2 separate regions of the Homo sapiens genome follow, and region 2 is linked to region 1. The links are contacts of gene promoters, found by promoter capture Hi-C in blood cells and fetal thymus (Javierre and others, 2016). All regions are on one chromosome and are shown on one strand. Each heading gives the region's core, a stretch centred on a gene start or on the middle of the fragment in contact. The rest is flanking DNA. Distances are from core to core; before and after follow the strand shown.

Evidence for each region. The method cuts DNA at HindIII sites, captures the fragments that hold promoters and counts their contacts. A CHiCAGO score of 5 or more calls a contact.
Region 2: a contact is called between a fragment that was not itself captured here and the fragment with the promoter of IL1RAP in region 1, in 2 of 17 cell types (non-activated CD4 T cells and naive CD4 T cells). The highest score is 7.8, in non-activated CD4 T cells.

Annotation. Positions count from the first base shown.
Region 1 is chr3:190,510,621-190,517,128 of GRCh38, forward strand. IL1RAP (interleukin 1 receptor accessory protein) reads left to right here and starts at 3,465. Exons shown (of 12, transcript NM_002182.4): 1 at 3,465-3,599. RefSeq lists enhancers at 2,812-2,901, 3,654-4,155, 4,156-4,655 and a silencer at 3,052-3,401. The HindIII fragment of the contact is 8,413 bases long and covers 1-6,508 here.
Region 2 is chr3:187,737,634-187,744,141 of GRCh38, forward strand. The region is part of intron 1 of BCL6 (BCL6 transcription repressor); the gene reads right to left. It overlaps BCL6-AS1 (BCL6 antisense RNA 1), which reads left to right and starts at 6,036. Exons shown (of 2, transcript NR_173091.1): 1 at 6,036-6,411. RefSeq lists enhancers at 484-1,463, 3,556-4,057, 4,058-4,557 and a silencer at 1,965-2,140. The HindIII fragment of the contact is 1,021 bases long and covers 1,963-2,983 here.

The sequences.
Region 1 (6,508 bases), core at 2,215-4,714:
GTACAGGCAATGAGAGAGAGTGATAACTCCAACTTTTTGACCTGAGCAACTGGGTAAAAGACAGTGTTGCTTACAAAGCTCTGGTTTGGTGTGGGGCAGAAATAAAGTTTGAATTTGAACATGTAAAGTTTGAGATGTATTTAAAACATCCAAGAAGGAGATATGAAGGAGGTAATATGGTATACAAAGTCTGGTTTGGGCTTTAGATTTAGATTTGCAAGTTATTATCATATTGATATTTTAGAAGGCCATGTGTCTGTCTGAGTTCCCCTAGGTAGAGAATATAACCACTTCAAGGATTGAGCTCTAGGACACTGGAACCTTCAGAGATCATGAAGAGGTAGAGGATTCAATAAGAATCTGATAAGGAACAGCAGATGAAATACATGAAAAACAAAGAGTCAAGTACGAGAGAGTGTGAAAGAGCAACAGATTATCTGTGTCTAATGCTGCTGATACATGTACAATGAAGACAGAGAATTGATCACCACATTTGGCAAAGTGAAGATCATTACAGATGCTGACTGTGGAGTGGTAGAGATAAATGTCTGAATGGATTGGGTTCAAGAGACTAGCAAACTCCTGATGCGTCTTACAGCTACAGCAAGATAATTAAAGATAACCTAAAAAAAAGGTGGAGGGTAAAAGCTGGGAGAAGAAGAGAATAATAATACCTTTCCAAATACATCAATCAATTGCAAAATATTTTATTGTGCATCTTCTATACATCCAGCAGTATTAGTCACTGACATCAATGAATTTGTAGCTTCATTTATTCATTTAGGCAACTATTATTCATCAAATGTTTAGTATGTGATGGATATTTAATGGGTATAGCTTTAAAATATTTTTCTCAATTGTTAGCATAACATTTTTTCATTTTTAATTATTACGGGTACATAATAGGTGTATATATGTATGGGTGACATGTGATGTTTTGATACATGCATACAATGTGTAATAATCACATCAGGGTAATGACAACAGGGTGTCATCACCTTGACCATTTGTCACTTCTTTGAGGAACATTCCAATTTCACTCTTACTTATTTTAAAATGCATAATTAATTATTGTTGACTGTAGTCACTCTGTTGTGCTATCAAGTGCTGGGTCTTATACATTCCAGCTAATTATATTTTTGCAACCGTTAACCATCCTCCCTTCCCCACAACTCCCTTGCCTCTGCTACTCTTCCCAGCCTCTGGTAACCATCATTCTACTCTCATATCTCAGTTCCTTTGTTTAATTTTTAGCTCCCACGTGTGAGTGAGAATTTGCAAAATTTGTCTTTCTGTGCTTGGTTTATTTCACTTAAATGTAAAAGGAAAAAGAGATGTTTCTATTTCTGTAATCCTAACATATCAACATTTTTTCACATTCCTTTCAATTGGTGTTCATCTCTCCACAACTTTTACTCAACCTTATTTTGTAAGCCTTTTTCTTTGTAGACATATTTCCATAATATGATAGTTATGATGCAAATATTTTATTCTGTGCGTAGACAGCGTTGGTTAACTAATCATTTTCATTTCCAACCATTTATATTGTGTTCAAACTACAATATACTATGAATATTTGTCTATATGATTATTCATCTTAATGTTATCTTCCTTAAGCTATGAGTAGCCCTTCAATGTCCGGGAATATACATCTGGTTCAATTCTGAATTACTAGCATCTGTTTGGCTTCTAGGTAGTACATGAGACTGAGTAGCGGCTGAGAGCATGAACGTCGAGTGTCTCTAGTCTCATTTTGTATTCTCCACTTGTAGGCCTGTAGCCTTGGTCAAGTTATTTAAATTCCCTTTATCTCCTTTATGAACTGGAGATAATAATAGCACCCTCCAGGTTGTATTGAGGGTTACCTGAATTAATATACACAAAGTCCTTATGATTGCACCTTTTTATTTTGTAAGCACTGTGTAAATGCTTCAGTGTACTATATATATATAAAAGTCTGTGCCCAGAATATATTTAAGGAATGAATAATAAATCAGAAAATGTTTTATTGTTGCTTCATACAGGTAACATTTTAAATTCTTTTGGATTATTTTCTCTTTGGTTCAGTGACAATGTTGTGAGCAGGTGCTGGGTCCCAGGTATCCTGAGATAAATAAAAATTTTGAGCAATTAATTTTCATAAGTGATGTCAAGAAGTAAAGTATCATGAACATTTCTATGGCTCCAATTACACTGATATTTCACCTTAGGAACTGAAGCTCCGCCAGGGCAGGGGCAGCCTCTGAGTTTCGTACTGCTGTGCACCTTTAGCAGCACGGGCACCTGCTGGTTTCATTTCCTTCCCACTCACCTGGGCCCTTTTCTTATTTCACATCTTTTTTCTCCTTTTCCTTAAATGCTTTCTCTGAATCTTGATTCTTGAAAATAAATTAGTAGGATTCAGTTAGGTAGGAGGAGGAGAAAAGAAGATGTGATGAGCAAGAAGATGTGCGAAGACTCGTCAGTCTGGTAGGTGGCTTTGGTTAGGGGGTTTCAGAAATGGGGACAGGTCATGAAGGGCCTTGCCAGTCAGGAAAAATCATGAGGCACTAGCAGTAGGAACACAGCAGAAGGTGCCTGAACAAGAGAGATGACTTAATGAAAGCCTTTATAACGCTTCCCGGGATATATTACAGACTACCATCTACAGTGGCAGAGGGCAGCTGAAGGAAGGCTCTTGCAAAAACTTGGGGAAATGGAAATGAATGAAGGCAAATATTTGTTTTGAGATTATTTCCTTCTATGTAACCTATTAGTTCTTTTATTCGTTCCCCATACATGTATTGAGTGCCTACTTTGTGCCAGGCACTGTGCTAGGCAATGGGTATATTACCAGTGGACAATACAGATTTAGTCTTGCTGTCATGTCCTGTTGCTTGCTCATATGAATGTCAGTTCAAGACAGCAAGAGCTCAGGACTGCGGAGATCGCATCTACATCCTGCCGCGCTCTGTGCCGGCACAGGGTGGTTGCGAAAATCGTGCAGTCTGAATTGATTCAAGGCCTTGCAGCATGATTGCTAAATACGTCGAGACAGGAAGAAAGGGCAGGGTGGCACCGATCTCAACTGCGAGAGCACGATCTTGCAATGAGCGCATGTGTGCGCCTCGGTGTGTAGTGAGGGGCGTAGCTTCCCACAGCGCCTGGCAGCGTGCCGAGCTGCGCTGCAGGACTAACCCTCTCCTTTCCCCGCGCGCTCAAGCCCGCACAGGCGGTGGCAGGGAGCCGAAGGGGCCGAGCGCAGCCTTGCATCCGTCCGCAGGCGGGCCCGGCGCCGCGCCTCCTGGCGGCGGGCGGGACCGTCCAGGACGCCGCCCCGCGGCCGCAGCTCCTGGAAGCCCAGAGCGCCGGTGGATCGCGAGCCAAGGCGGCGGGTGGAGCCTGAGCCGTGAGGCCGTGGCCAATCGCGCCGCTCCGGGGGAGGAGCCCCAAAGGGGGAAAAGAAAGTGCGGCGGAAAGTAAGAGGCTCACTGGGGAAGACTGCCGGGATCCAGGTCTCCGGGGTCCGCTTTGGCCAGAGGCGCGGAAGGAAGCAGTGCCCGGCGACACTGCACCCATCCCGGCTGCTTTTGCTGCGCCCTCTCAGCTTCCCAAGAAAGGTGAGTCTCGCGCCGCCGTGAGGGCTCAGAAGTCACCAAGCCGCAGAATCTCAGGGTAGACGGATTCTTAGAGATCCTATCGTTAAACCCTCCTACTTTACAGAAGAGGAAACTGAGGCACAGAACGAGGCAGCGGCTGGGATAGGTCATACTGCTAGTTAGGACTGGAGCCCGGATTCGAACCCAAACGTTCAGAGACCCATCTTTGCTTTGCAGGGATTTAAGTAACGCGGTTGTGGGACGTCTGCTCGTTGCCGCCCCCATCCTCAGCCCTTTGAGGGGTCTACCCTTGTTTTCCTCCTCACCGCCCCCTCCCCGCTACCACCCCCCGCCCCCATCTCCTCCTTGGTTTCTCCAGACCGCTGCTGGAAGCGCCGAGGACAGAAGGAAGCGGTGTGTCCCAGCACGCCCACTCGGTATCACGTCGCTCTCAGCGCAGAGCTGTGACAGCCTGGGAAAATGCTGCTTGCAGCCTCACTCCCTCTTCCCCTGACCTGCTTTCTCAGAAAGATGCCCCTTCAGAGGGTGTCGGACCAGCTTCTGGAGGAGCGCGGGGAGAGAGGAGCGAGGCCCGGGCGCCAGTGACCTCCTATGGTACTGTTTCTTCCCAGCCCCGGAGGAAGCGGAGCTAGTGGCCCTGTGGGGCACAGGGTGCCCCTCACTTGGGAAGAGCTGACTTCATGGAACCATAGAGCCCCTTCCCTCTTCTAAATACTGAGAGGGAGCAAGGAAGCTGAGTTAAAGAGAAAATCACAAACATAAAAGCAAACTTCGGCTGTTTCCTTTAAGAGCTAGCCCACAGCCTGTCTTCCCTCCACCTTCTGGTTGTGAAATTGTGAACCAGGGCGCCACGCGAAGCATTCTGCTGCTCTGCTGTACAGATCCCTGGTTTAGCTACTGGATGAGAAAGAGGACTTGAGTTTTGACTCCAGCTCTTCCATGTATTAGCAGTGTGAACTTGGGCAAGTTATCTCACCTTTCCGATACTGGGTTTTTCTTTTCTTTCTTTCTTCCTTTTTTTTTTTTCCAGCCAAAAAATGGAGATTTATAATGGTCACAATGAGCCCTTTGGGTAGTTGGAAGGATGAAATGGGATCATTCAAGTAGCATGTTTAGCACAGTGCCTGGCCTGGCATCTGGTTGGTTCAAAACCAATGGCAACTATTGTAAATATTGTTACATAGTAACCTTGCAGACAGTGGGTTTTCAGAAAGGTGATTTCATACCATCTTACAGAGGCATTTTAAAAAAATCTGTAAATGTGGTGTCTTTCTTCTTTTGAATTTGAGCAACTCTTTTATAATAAGAATTTTCTGAATGTTGTCCATATGTGATGTGGATCATGGATGCTTAGCTCGAAATGTAAAATTGATGTTTCTCGGTGATATGAATTTCCTACTAGTTTTTAGGTCAAACCTCAGGCCTGTGAACTGCCCTGATCTGAGACATCCTTTATTGACAAAGAGGGTCTTGAAATGGGTGAGAGGCAGAAAGACAAGAAGACAAAGTTGGAAGTTGCAGCTGTGTTACAGATTATTCTAAGCCTTCTATCCTTGCTCTCTTAGGTCAGTCGAGCAACCTTACATTTTTCATCTAGTATCAGAAAACAAACAAAATTCTCATATATTTCTTTTGGATTGTACAGAGATGCTGCTAAATGCAAACCTTTCTGGACACAAACTTGCCTTATTTAAACACGAACACACAGACATTCACATGCCCACACTAGTCTTCCTGTATTATTGGTATTTTAAAGTTAAATGGATTCCCTCCCACACCCTTAACCCTTCTCATGACAATTGATTTTATTCTGATGAACTTCATGCAATAATTTACTACTATCTACTGGCTTTGCCATGCGTCCTTAAATTGAGTGTCCAGCATTTGTAGTTGGCTGCCTCCTTCACAGGCCATAGCATTTGTATGCAGTATTGGTAAGTGCTTGAGAACAGAGTGTGATACATCTTGATGGAAGATAAGAGCCCAGTGGTGCCCACTTAAGTACCTCCCGCACCAAGCATTAGTAAAGGATGGGATCACCTGCTTCTATCAGCTTGTTCCATGTACATGCATTGTGGTGAGCTGGCTGGGATATGACTGAATGTGTGCCTGAGAGACAGGGGCCTTGTGGGGGAAAAGGAAAATGTTCAAAATAAGGTCAGATCATGAGGATGGAAGGGAGATTAAAAGCTAATTCCTTTGGTTCTGATTCTTCAAAGAAAGGTTGGTCAATTATACCCATATCTTCATACAGATTATTACTTGTTACCAAAACCATATATATGTATAGAACTTTAAAATTTCCAAAGTGCATTCTGTATATATGATACTCCTTGTTACTCACAATAGCCCTGGGAGGACATGGCAAGAATATTAATAGAGGAAGGAGCCCAGGTTTTGTGGTCAGACCTACTTGATTTCAAATTCCAGCTCTCATGCCTGAGTAGTTGGGTGATATTGAGCAGTTTATTTAATCATTTGAAGTTTCTGTTTTATCCAGTTCTAAAATGGAAAAAAAAAATGCTTACTTTAAAAATCTGTATAACGAATAAATTCAATAGAATAATGTCAAGTACATGTAGTGAATAGGTGCTCATTAAATGATATCTCTTCTTAGCTAGTCTCAATTTATTTAGAACATAACTGGAATGAGACTCAGAGAAATGAAAAGTTGCTAGAGGTCATGTGTTAGTATGTTTCAACTCTGGGAATACAGTTCACACCTTTTCATGTCTAGTTTAGGGCATTTCCCATCACACTCTGTTTCCTCGCCAATGAGATATTTAACAATTTACTTCAGTTATAAAGTTGACCTTATTTGTCTGGTTATTTCAGGATATCCTTTTTGTTGAAAAGCAGGTATTTTCTTGCAAAGAGAACAATCCTTAAGCACAGTTCTGTAGAGTTTA
Region 2 (6,508 bases), core at 1,223-3,722, 2.8 Mb before region 1:
CTCGAAGCCCCCCGCAAGGCGCGACGGAGGCTTTGTGGTATGACCGTGGCGGCCCTTAATTTAGTTACATTCAAATAAAACTTTTGGTGCACCTCGGTAGCTAACATTGTGTGTATGCCTTTTTTTTTTTTTTTTTTTTTTTCCTGTTACGCCGTCAATGCAGCAGGCAATGAGGGGAATGACACAGCCCTCTCATTCCCGGAACGTAGTCAATCTCGGCTCTGCGGATTTCACAGAACACACTTTGCCTATTGCCGGCTCCAACAAGAAGTAACTTTCCAGGAAGCTGCCGGCCCCGGCAGCCGCCAGGATCGCTGCCTGCGCTGCGCTGGCCGCCGGGGATTCACCCAGGGAGGCGGGGCCGCTGGGGAAGGCTCGCGGGGAATACAGCACACTTTCCCCTAAATCCCTCGTCCGCGCCGAGTGCAGGGCTCTCAGAGTTCACCTAGTCCCACCTCTCACCCACAACAGTTTATAAATGGGGAAGGTCAGACAAGTTAGTAGCAGAGCTGGGTCTAGAACCCAGGAGTTCGAATACAATCCGAGGCTCATATCGAGACTTTAAGTTGTCCGATTCCGAAGTTTATTTGCTTTTTTCCCTCTTTTTGCCTTCCATTCTCCCTCACCCCCGTTCTTTTAGGGGAATGTTTGAGCGAGACTTCAAGGTCAAAAGATGGAGTCCCTAGGGGCTGAGGGTCTCCATCATAGGCGCCCCAGGCAAGGTTGGAGAAAAACTAAACAGAAAGCCCCTTCCGCCTACGTTGGCAAGAACGGGAACCCAGCTCCACTTGGTTTCCGCCCAAAGTCTTTAGAACAGGAGCTGCCAAGCCGTAAGGATTTCCGAATCCGATTTCCCCGAAACCGTAGAGACACAGCTTGGACTCGGCAAAGGCCGGGGCCCCGACCCCTGCGCGCGCACTGGCACTCTCCAAAGTTGCCTCGCCTTCCTGTGGCCCTCCCGGGAATTATAACCCCCGGGTGCCATGTCCTAATTGGTCTCGGTAGCAGGCTCCGGGGTGCGCTTTCGGGGGCTAGGGGACAGCGAAAGACTCAGCCACAAAGGCCGCAGTCTGGTCCTAAAACTAGCCAGTGGCGTCACACTGCGCCGCTCATCCCTTCTGCGGCAAGCGGAAGGGTCAGAGTCGGTCTGCAAAGAACGAGCCTTTGGCCTCAAAATCCTACATTGAGGCTTTCTCACCCCTTCGCCCGGTGGGATAAAGGTGAAAGAGACGGTTGGGATTTAATAAGGGGTAGGGATGAGAATCTGGGAAGTTAAAATGAAGTAAGTGCATTTATTGGAAATTAGGAGTCCCGTGGTTCCGGGAGCTCAAACCGAATGGTGTTTTTACCGCTGCCTAACGCTAGAGAGAGCCCTCCATCAAGGTTTGAAACCGTCAACCCCTTTCTCGCCCCTCCCCTCCTTCCCATTGACCTAGTTTGGCCAGAGCCTCCCGATTTGGAGAATGCCTTCCGCCCTTCCCCCCTCCTCTCCAGCCAGAGAGGCTACAGAGGCTGTTGGATTATTGGTAATCTAATAACTCCAATAACCCGCTGAAAAATCCAAAGGGAAATCTGAAAGTGTAAAGCACTGTTTAGGGACAAGGACAAGGAATTTTAATAAGGCTGCAACTGCCGTAGTGAACCCCGCATCAGGGGCCCTGCCGTGGGGCTCCCGGTCTCAGCAGTGTTTCAGCCAACTAGCTGCACGGCTGCAGACACCACCGTGGTCCGGCGGCAGGGGGTGAGGTCAAATCGCGGAGCTGTTTTTATTCTTGGGGGAAAACACTCTTCGCCCTCTTGGCTGGGGAACGGGAGGGTGCAGGAGACGACAGTAAATAAAAGCGAATTTGATAACGCGATGGCCTCGACAGCCGCTTTGGATAACCGAGGTGTTCGGGGACATTGTGTCCTGACTTTCATTTCTATCACGTTTCCTGCCAACAGTGCTCTTGCAAGCCTGCAAGCTTCTAGGAAATGCAATAAAACAGAGGGATGTGTTTTATCATCAAGATCTGAAGAGGAGTTGCAGAAGGGACGTTCCCCATACGCTCAGCGCGAGACAGCCTTCCAGAAGGGCCCGAAGACAATGCCAGCAAATCGCGTCCCGGAGCAGAGATCCCTCGGCCGTCCTGGCTGGACTGGGCTCAGCCTTTGCAAAAAGGCTGGCGGGGGAGGGGAGAAGCATGATCTCCTCAAGCAAACAATGCCTTTAAAAATCCGATCTGGAAAGAAGTCAGCCAAGGTCCTTATTCACGTTAATGAAGATGGAAGGCACTAACTGTCCTTGGAAAGCGATGAGTCAAACTTGACCGCGCTTCAAACTCGTTCCCAGATTCGTTTCCAGTCCGAACAGAGGCGCGTTTCTCCGACGCGGCCTCCGACGGCTCCCGCAGTGGGAGGGGCCGAACTCGATCCCCGCCGACCCGGGCGGGGGCGACGGCGCTGTCTCCCCCTGCAGAGCGCGCCTGCTGCCGCTAGGGGCCGCCAGCATGCGGACGCGCGTTTGCCATCTTAAGTCACGAGCTCGGAGAAAGAAAACTTTACGGAGGAACTGTTGTGGCACAAATTCTGGCCTATCCACATGACCCCCACCCCCTCACACACACACACCCGGTTTCTCGCCAGGCTACTATGCAGAGGATGTTAGGAAGGGGAAGAGAGCGATTTCAGAATCGAGGCTCGCCCTGCAAGTCTTTGGTCCAGGCCTTAACCCCCCTCTTAACACGCAAACCCCCGAGCTCCGAGACCCACACCCTTCAGCACCATCTGGGCTTTTCGTGTCATTACCGAAAATCTTAGGCCATATTTTCTTTAAAAAAAATCCTCCAAGACTGCTGGGGAGCGGTTTCCAATGAACACTGGCAACAAAGGTGACCTAAGAGGTTAAACTCATGGTTCTGGCAGCCGCTCCTTTCTCATAAATACTTCTAAGGAGCTGAGATAAACCCGCCTTTGGCTTTCAGTCACTGACATGAAATTCAGAAGCTTAAAATCTGGTCCTGGTTAAGTCACTAACTCACCACTAACAAGCCTCCTCGTCGGGCCTGTTTCCTCAACTGCAAAACAGAGTTGTACGTCCCAAAGCCCCTGAGCTCCTAGGTGGCATCCTTCCACTACCGACTTCCCCTAAGAGGGGCCACAGGGACAGGAAGATGGTGTGTTCGAAGCGGGTTATTTGTGGTTTTTCTTAGTGCAAATAGATGCTCATCGCTGAGTGATGGGCAAGCAGCGAGGCCTTTCTGATTTTCATCCCTCTTGCCAAAACTTTGGAGGTTGTATGCCATCCCCATTGGAGGGTGCCCTCCTTCTGTCAGTCCTAGCATCTGGTCAGGGTACCGCCGCCCGGGAGGTGGAACGGCGAGCCCACCGCCCATGGCCGCGAACTCGATCTCAGCCCACCGCTAGGTGGCAGGCCAGCCCGTCCGAGAATCGCCGCGCGGCCGCAGCTTCCACACCGATCCCTACCCGCCCCTCTTTATTTTCTGTCTGGTGGGGGCGAGGGTTGGGGGTGTGATTGCCTCTAAAAGCAAAGCTAGAAAACATTTAATTTAGTGTATGTAATTCCGTTCCTCCCGATGCTCCCGCCTCTAGCAACCACAACGCGGTATCTGGAGCTGGTTTCATGTATCATAAGTTGATTTCTCCCCCAGCCTCCGAAAAGCTTTATGTACTGGGAAGGGAAAGAAGGTGCACTTGTCTTCAAAAGGCAGAATGGCACTCGACAGTATTGGCAGAGATTCTTGCCAAACACTGGTCATCCAGCAAAGAAAGTCGGGAATAAACTCCTGATCTTCTCGGAGGAAAGGGGCGCTGGGGGCCGAGTGCTGGATCCCACTCAGGCTCACTGCGCCTGGCAAAGCGGGGGAGTGGGGAGTCGGGTATGGTCTTTTGGTGAAGTTGTGGGTCTCGGAGTGGACATCGGGAGGGTTGGGAGGGGCCGTTCCTGGTTTCCACTGGGGCAAAGAGAAACCAGCCAGTTCTGCCACCACGCTGCACCCTCGCTGTGCTCGCGGCGGCAGCGGCGGTCCCACTTGTTGCGCAGTGCTGGAAACCGGCACGCGCCATTCGATGTTGATTCACAGAGGGCTACAGACCAGCCTACCATTGCTCCACGCCATCCACAAACCTCCTCAACACACCCCCTACACATACGTCCTGCCACCGCCGGCAAAACTACAGCATTTCCAGCCACTATGGTGTTTTACACCAAAACATCCCTCACTATCTCGGTATCAGACAGGCAGCAGAATTAAGATGCCCTGAGAAGTCAATCCAAGGGGAAGGCCGGGCTACCTCCGCCTGGAGAACTCTTCTACTTAAAATCAACCAGGCACCCTCCCCCCACCAAAAAAAAAAACCTTAGAACCACGTTGCCTATTATAACACCATCCTAGTTGGAAAGCAACATTTTTCTTCCCTACTTGATAAACTTCAAAGTCCTTTTTATCCGTTAGTTTTATCTCCCCTATTTTTTTTAAATCTCTGGGGGAAAAATGTTTCATAAGTTCACTTCCCAATATTTTTCAAAAATTGACTTTTGCCAATAGTTTCACCCACCGAGGGGTGGCGCTGCTGCACCGCCTCCTCTATATCTCTTAAGTTTTTCACAACAAAGTGGGTTGTGAGTGTCATTACCCTGTAGGGGATAGAGGGAAGGAAGGGTTTTGACATCTAGCCGTGGCTACCATTTACTCAACCAATAACTGGAACTCTTCAAGGGCTCAGCAAACGACAACTTAAGCATTTAGAGTCCCATCCCTATCCACCAAACCCAGAATAAGTTAGTCTTTTCAAGAAAGCATTGGTATAAAACCCTTCAAAACTGAAAAGAAGAAAGGGGCAATTGGAGAATTCCCACTTTTTCTGGCTGTCTCCTTCAAGTCGCCCAGTTTTTATGAACAGCATCTAGCCTTACTGTCACTATCAACAACCCTTAAAACTAGCCAATGCTTCGGCCTCTAGTATTGGAAAGTCTTCCAAATAGGATACTGGAAACTTCTATTTATAAGCTTGGGGTGGCGGGCGGGGCGGGGAGGTGGAGAGAGAGTTGCCATCTACAGGTTTCTATTTTGGCCTGAAGACTCAACTGCAGTCATTAGAGTAAGGGAATGCCCATCTCCTGGTACTTGTTCGCCATTTCCTCCTCCCCCAGAGACAAATATCTTTTCGTCTTTTTTAAAAAAGTATATATTTTAAAGCAAGAATGTGATTTCATCTCTCTTCTTTGAGCTCATGTTTGCTACCTCCAGGAATAGCGTGTGGACTAGGGCCAGATGAACTTCAACTTGGGCTGCAGATTTACGAGGTTCTGTTCTAGTGCCAAAGGCTCTTGGTAGTAAATAGTGAGCAAAATAGATACCTGTCTCCTGATGGATCTTGCCGCCCCCTCTTTTTTTTTTTAAGTTATTTATTAAAACCACACACACCTTGCAAAGAAAAAGGGAAACTGGCAGTCTCTGTAGAGGAAGCCGGTGGCATCGCTCAGAGCCACAAACTGTATTTCTAAACAGCCCTTTCCCTGGTTCCCTCTCTCCTGCCCCACTTTTTTTAAAATCCAGACTGTAAAAAACACATCTACTGACACTCACTTTACTTTAAAAAAAGAAGAGAAAAAGTAAAGCGTTACAAGACTTTCCTCCTGGAAACTATAAACTGAAAAAAAAATCCATAAAAGATTAAATCCTGGCGGGTTGTGGGGTGGCGGGGGCCGGCGGGGAGGGGGCGCGGAGTGGAGATTGGCTCTCTGAGGTGGTCAGGGGCCCTGTGACAGCTTGGGACTTTCAGCACCTGGTTTGGGGTCATTTATCTGCTCAACTGTCAGGACCCCCCACCCCCAAACCCCAGCCACCAACACAACCATCGTAGAAGGGAACACAACACAGAGGGTCTTTTTTCATTTTTTTAAAAAATCGGTTTGGTTGTGTTTTTGTTTTCCATGGGGGAGCTTTAAAACTCATTATTGCAACACTAGTTCCATTTTTCGCCAGGGTTCCAATAACACGGCATCATAAAGGCAACGCAACCCACAGTTCTCAAGACATTTACCACGGTCACTACATCCGGCAGCGGGGTGGCCCCTAGCTCCTGCTGCCCCCCCGCCCTTTCTCCCCGCCCGCCCCCGGAGCTCAGCCGATTTCTGAGGCTCCAACTCTACCCACTCCCTCCCCGGGCCGCCGCCGCCGCGCCTTCCCCCATTCTTACTCCCTCGAGGAGAGCCACAGGTTGCAAATCCAACCAACCTCGCAATCTATTTTTGCAAAATCACTCACAAAGATCTCCCTTTCGCGCCCGCGCCCGCTCCTCCCGCGCCGGGTCCCCTCAGCCACGGCCACAAAGTGCCCTTCTCTCCTCCTGAGTCTTGCACATAAGGAACGCGGGCTGGGGCTCTGTTCGTCTTTCTCCTCGCCCAAGGTAAGGACCTCGGGAATCTGAAGCCTGGCGTCCACTACGCTCAGGCCCGCAGTTCCCTTTTTACAGAGCTTGCACCATGGGAAAAAATAAAATAAAA